2 separate regions of the Homo sapiens genome follow, and region 2 is linked to region 1. The links are contacts of gene promoters, found by promoter capture Hi-C in blood cells and fetal thymus (Javierre and others, 2016). All regions are on one chromosome and are shown on one strand. The core of a region is centred on a gene start or on the middle of the fragment in contact, and the rest is flanking DNA. Distances in the headings are between cores, read along the strand shown.

The links. Contacts are between HindIII fragments. The CHiCAGO score rates a contact against its expected background, and 5 or more counts as called.
Region 2: a contact is called between a fragment that was not itself captured here and the fragment with the promoter of COL18A1 in region 1, in 4 of 17 cell types (endothelial precursors, erythroblasts, megakaryocytes and 1 more). The highest score is 7.1, in endothelial precursors.

The regions. Positions count from the first base shown.
Region 1 is chr21:45,403,740-45,406,447 of GRCh38, reverse strand. COL18A1 (collagen type XVIII alpha 1 chain) reads right to left here and starts at 1,283. Exons shown (of 42, transcript NM_001379500.1): 1 at 1,207-1,283; 2 at 975-1,069. The coding sequence starts at 1,217. BNAT1 (breast cancer associated ESR1 regulating natural antisense transcript 1) reads left to right here and starts at 86. Exons shown (of 2, transcript NR_183526.1): 1 at 86-281; 2 at 1,952-2,642. RefSeq lists an enhancer at 1,428-2,128. The HindIII fragment of the contact is 21,482 bases long and covers 1-2,708 here.
Region 2 is chr21:45,140,499-45,143,198 of GRCh38, reverse strand. The region is part of intron 2 of ADARB1 (adenosine deaminase RNA specific B1); the gene reads right to left. Among named protein-coding and RNA genes, the nearest start is that of ADARB1, 67 kb to the right of the region's middle. The HindIII fragment of the contact is 1,078 bases long and covers 859-1,936 here.

The DNA of each region.
Region 1 (2,708 bases), core at 34-2,533:
ATGCTACTATTTAACCTGGTGACTAAGTCGATTGGAAACAATGAAACAAATTATTACAGGAATCCAGACGACATCCCTCCCTCCCCCTTTCCTGCTTCCTCACCCGCTGTAGCAAGCAGGTGTGGAGTCGAGTCGGAGGCAGGCGCTGGCTGCGTGGACCCCCGGGTGGGATTCCACCCGCGACAAGGCACCCAGGCCCTTTGGGCGGGGCTCCCCTGGGGTCCGCGTCCCCGCCGCCTCCCCCGGGCCTCTGCTGGGCTGGCTGGAGGCAGGAGGCCCCGGTTAGCAGGTGGTGGGGAACTGGGTCCCGGGGTTGGAGGCAGGAAGGTCCCCACGGGCCCCGCGCACCGTTTGCCGCGCACGGGAAGCGGCGAGGCCGGCGGGGCAGCGGCTTCTGGGCATTGTTCTCGGACCGCGCGGCGCTCGGTTGGCATCAAAGGGGACCGCGCAACCCGACACCACGGCGGGCGCGGGGACAGAGGCCTGAGGGCGGCGGGGACAGAGGCGCACAAGGCCCGGCCCGCGGCGAGGAGCCTCAACAGGTTGGAAACGCGGAGACGACGCCCCGCGCTCCGCCGCCTTCCGCCCGCGGTCAGTCCCGGGACCCGGCGCTGCGGGGACGAGGCCGTGACGGCGACAGAGGCCGCGTCTCCCGAGACCCCGCGGCCCCGCCCCGAGCCCTCCCGGCACCGACGACCCCGCCGGCCGCGGAGGTTCGGTCCCCGCGCGGGGACTCCGGCCGCTCGCACCGCGCACCCCTCCCGGCCCGGACCCCGCGGGGAGAATGAATGGGCGGGACTCCGGCCACCCCGCCCCGCTCCGTCCGGCTCCGGCGCCTCCTGCGCGCGTGGGCAGGGCCGGGGCTGAACCCAGAGCGGCCGGGGCGGGGGTGAGGGAGCCGGGCGGGGACCCCAGCCAGGGCGGCGAGGCCGGCGGGCACCGGCGCGAACCTTCCCGTCCCGCCCGGGTCTTACCTGGCTCCGCGGAGGCCGCGCGGACCCCGAGCAGCAGGACCAGGGGCGCGAGCACGTCCAGGAGGCGCCGCCGCCGCGGCCATGGCCAGGGGCACCTGCGCGGGACAGGCACGGGTCAGACCCCGCAGGACCCCCGCGACCCCCGCAGGACCCGGCCGAGCCCCGCGACCCCCGCGACCCCCGCAGCCGCATCTTGGCGTCCCCCAACCCCTGCCCGCAGCCCCGGCCTCACCTCGGCGCCATGCTCTCCCCAGGACCGTCAGCGCCGCGGGATGCTGCCTCCTCCGCCGCGGTGCACCCGCTCGGACCGCCGCGCTGCAGCCGCCGCCGCTGGGAGGCCGGGCAGGGGGCGGGCAGGGGCCGGGCAGGGGCCGGGCAGGGGGCGGGGCGGGCGCGGGCAGGGGGCGGGCGCGGGGCGGGGCCGGGCAGGGGCCGGGCAGGGGGCGGAGCGACGAGCAGGGCAAGGCCCGGGGAGGGGAGAGGGGGGCGGGCGCCGCAGCGGACCTGCGGCTGCGAGGACGGGGCGGGCCGGGACCCGGGGGCGGCGGGGACGGGCGAGGACGGACGGGGACACGTCCCGCCCCGAGGGAACCGCCCGAGGCTGCGACCCAGCACAGGGCCCGGGGGCTGCCCCGCGAGGAAGCCCAGGTTTATGCGGAAGGTGAACACCGCTGCCCGCCGGGCTACGACCCCAGCCCCTGAGTCCGGTGGGGCAGCGGGAAGGGGGGAGATTTGAATAGAGTCACCGCGGGGGGGACGGGACGGAGGAGGAAGCCGGCACCTCCGGCCCGCAAGGCCCCTGCAGGGTCCTGCCCCGGCTGCACGGAGGGACGGACGCGAGACAGGAGGGGCGTGCGAGGGCCAGATCTGTCCCCAGGTCCCCCTGTTCCCAGGGCGCGGCCCAGCAGAGCCTCTTCCTCCCCAGTTCCCAGGCTCCTCCTCCCTCCCAGGTGAAAACCCTGTTTCTATTTCTTCAGGGCCAGCATCCTGAGCCCCACCTGCAGGCCCTGGGCGCTTTCCTCCTGGCAGCTGTGCCCCCACCCGACCGGACCGCTCCCTGCAACCAGAGAGCCCTCACACCAGCAACACCCCCCAGCCTGCTCCCTCCTCGTGTGCGCGAAACTCATGGCACTGGCTTGACGGCTTTCTCTGAAACCCTCTGATTCCGCCTGGCCCATCCACACTGTCCCTTCCCGGCCAGGGCTCATCTCCTATGCCTGGACCAAACAGCGTAGTCTCCAGTCTCCCTGATCTCCCCACACGTGGCCCCACCCATCCTCTGAAGCAGCCCCAGGAGGCAGCAGTGACTTCACACTTCTAGTGCCCGGCCCTCCCGGCCCTCCTCTCTGGGCTTGCTTGCCAGGGTCCTCCCAACCTGACTGCTGCCTCCCACCTCCTCTCCGCCCCTGGAGCTCTCCAGCCGCAGCCGCGGGGCCTGCTTGGGATTCTCCTCTGCTGGCATCATCCCTGCCTGCCTCAGCCTTCCCAGGCCCAATCCTGCCCGATCTCACCTCTTCCCGCCCAGCCACCTGGTCGGGTCCCGACCAGCATCTGCCTTCAAACCTGGAGTCCTTCCCTGAGTGCTTGCGGTGCACTGTGAGGAAGGAAATCAATGTAAAGGATTATGACCCACATTTTTTAAAAATAAAAAGATTAAGGAGAACAGCATAGAGTAGAAGTGGTCATCGCACACTTCTGCAAAACTTTTGTTTCTCAGGTGGATGGAGGAGTGAG
Region 2 (2,700 bases), core at 148-2,647, 260 kb after region 1:
GAGGAGCACAGTGCCAGGAGGTTAGGAGAGGAAGAAGCAGGGAGCCAGGAAGGGCACCTGCCGAAGCAGAGGGCACAGGAAAAGTCGGCTGAGCGATGGCCACCTGCCAATCACTACACATGCATTTGCTCATTTAAACATCATCAAATCTCAGTAAAGGAGACTGAGGTTTCAGAGCAGCAGGCTGGACACGGCTGCTACTTGTTTTACAAGCATCGCAGATGCCATTGGAGCTTTGGCCTTTGTGGGTGGAGGCTGCACAGCTGTGCAGCATGGCCATGGTGTTGGTAAAGTAGTAACCAGCACAGAGTCACTAGCTGGTCCCCCTGGTCAAAGCCCTGCTCCCTCTTCTATTAGCCAAGGGCCGTAGGCAATTTCTTACCTTCTGGGCCCCTCAGATCCCCCTGCAAAACACATGACGGAGCCAGGCCACACCCCTGAGTTCATGGGGGGACCAAGCAAGGACGCCGCTTAGGCCGCAGCAGCTGCACACCCAGTAGGCAGATCCCACACGGCTCCCACCACCTCATGGGGAGCAGCCTGGCAGCCAGCTGGGCTGAGTCACTGCCCAAGGTCACATGGTGGCCATGTGCTAGGATCCACTCCAAATCCAGAGCTCTCCAACCTGGGGACCCACACTCCACCCCGCTACAATGCTGCCCAGTTAAAGAAAAAACACAACTACTTATTTTCTCAATTAAGATTCCTTACAATATTAAGTCAAGTAACATATTTCTTTACATAAACACATTTCTGTTTTCTGAATGAGAATGGTTTCAAACAGAACAGACTAAGTATAACTTTCAGTCTACTTGCAACATTCCTCTACTTCTTCAAACAAATGAATTCAATTAAGCTTTTTCCATTGGCTTTAAAGGTGACTTTACCATGCAACTTAGGGTTAAAAATCAAAGTCTACACTTCTCAAATGAGTATAGCGGGTGTTCGATTTGAAAAACAAAAAGAAGGCAGGAGCCCAAAAAAAGGAGACACTTGAATTGAGCGACCTTAATTAGCTGCAGTAGCATAATGTGGCTTAAAGCAAGCAAGCACCCACAGACAGTGACCAAGGGTGGCTCAGGTAACCCAGGGGTAGACAAGGTGACCCAGAGTGGCCAAGGTGGCCCGGGGGTGGCTAAGGACACCCAGAGGTGGCTACAGTGGCCCAGGGGTGGCTAAGTGACCCACAAACAGCTAAGCTGACCATGAGTGACTAAGGTGAAAGGGTGGGTAAGGTGACCCACAAATGGCTAAGGTGATCCTGGGGTAGCTAAGGTGACTCACTGGTGGCTGAGGTAACCCACAGGTGGCTAAGGTGGCCCTGGGATGGCTAAGGAGACCCTGGGGTGGCTAAGGCGACCCAGGGATGCTAAGGTGATCCTGTGGTAGTTAACATGGCCCAGGCGTGGCTAAGGCGACCCAGGGATGCTAAGGTGACCCTGGGGTGGCTAAGGTGACCCAGGGATGCTAAGGTGATCCTGTGGTGGCTAACATGGCCCAGGGGTGGCTAAGGCGACCCAGGGAGGCTAAGGTGTCCCTGGGGTGGCTGGAGGGACCCACGGGTGGTGAAGGTGGCCCACAGGTAGCTCAGGTGGTACTATGCTAGCAGCAGAGGACAACTCAAACCTAGGGGGACTATCACCCTTGAAGGACAGCTCCATCCCCATTTACAGACTCTGGGAAACTTTTTAAATTCTTATGAGCTCTGAATATAAATTTGATACTAAACTGGAACATACATTGACAGGTATTTCTTTAAAGATTCTTAGGCATTATTTAAAAATAATGCTTTCTATAACTGGCTACTAAAAATAAAACAGAATGGCAATCCTTTGAAATATATTCTGTAAAACCACTACTACATATTTAGATCATGAGAGTATAGGCTAATTTTTTGCATTTTAACATAATTATTACCTATTTGGAATATTAAGCTTAAAACAATAGAATCATAAAATTATGTTACACAAAGACTACACAGCAAAGTCACAACTTTTTTTTTTGAGACAGGGTCTCGCTCTGTCGCCCAGGCTGGAGTGCATTGGCACAATCTTGGCTCATTGCCACCCGTCTCCTGGGATCAAGCAATTCTCCCACCTCAGCCTCTCGAGTAGCTGGGACTACAGGCATGTGCCACCATGCCTGGCTAATTTATTTTTACTTTTATTTTTTGTACAGACAGGGGTTCACCATGTTACCCAGACTGGTCTCAAACTCCTGGGCTTAAGCAATCCTCCTGTCTCAGCCTCCCAAAGTTCTAGGATTATAGGCTTGAGCACCACACCTGGCCACAATTTTTAGAATTGCAAAAGATGTACAAAACTTCTCATTCCATAACACAATCAGCCCCTTCCGCAGACTTAATTTATTATATCAAATTTATAAATTACTTGATAAAATTTTATTTACAATTCAGATCACTCACTGAATTAAACCAGCTATAAGTATTCCATCTCATTGCTTCACAGGTCCTCTAAATGGTAAAAATGAAGCCAGGGAACAGAAAGCTTTCTGAAGGAAACTGGCTTCTGGACGCACACTGGAATGCACACACACATACACTCACGCACACACACACAGATGGTGTAAAGACAAGAGGTTTGTCCTGGTGGCCACCGCTCAGAACGCCACTGAGCCTCCTCCACTGAGTCTTAGAAGCGGCCCTACAGCACCATCTGCTGTTCTGCAGAGGTCACTCAA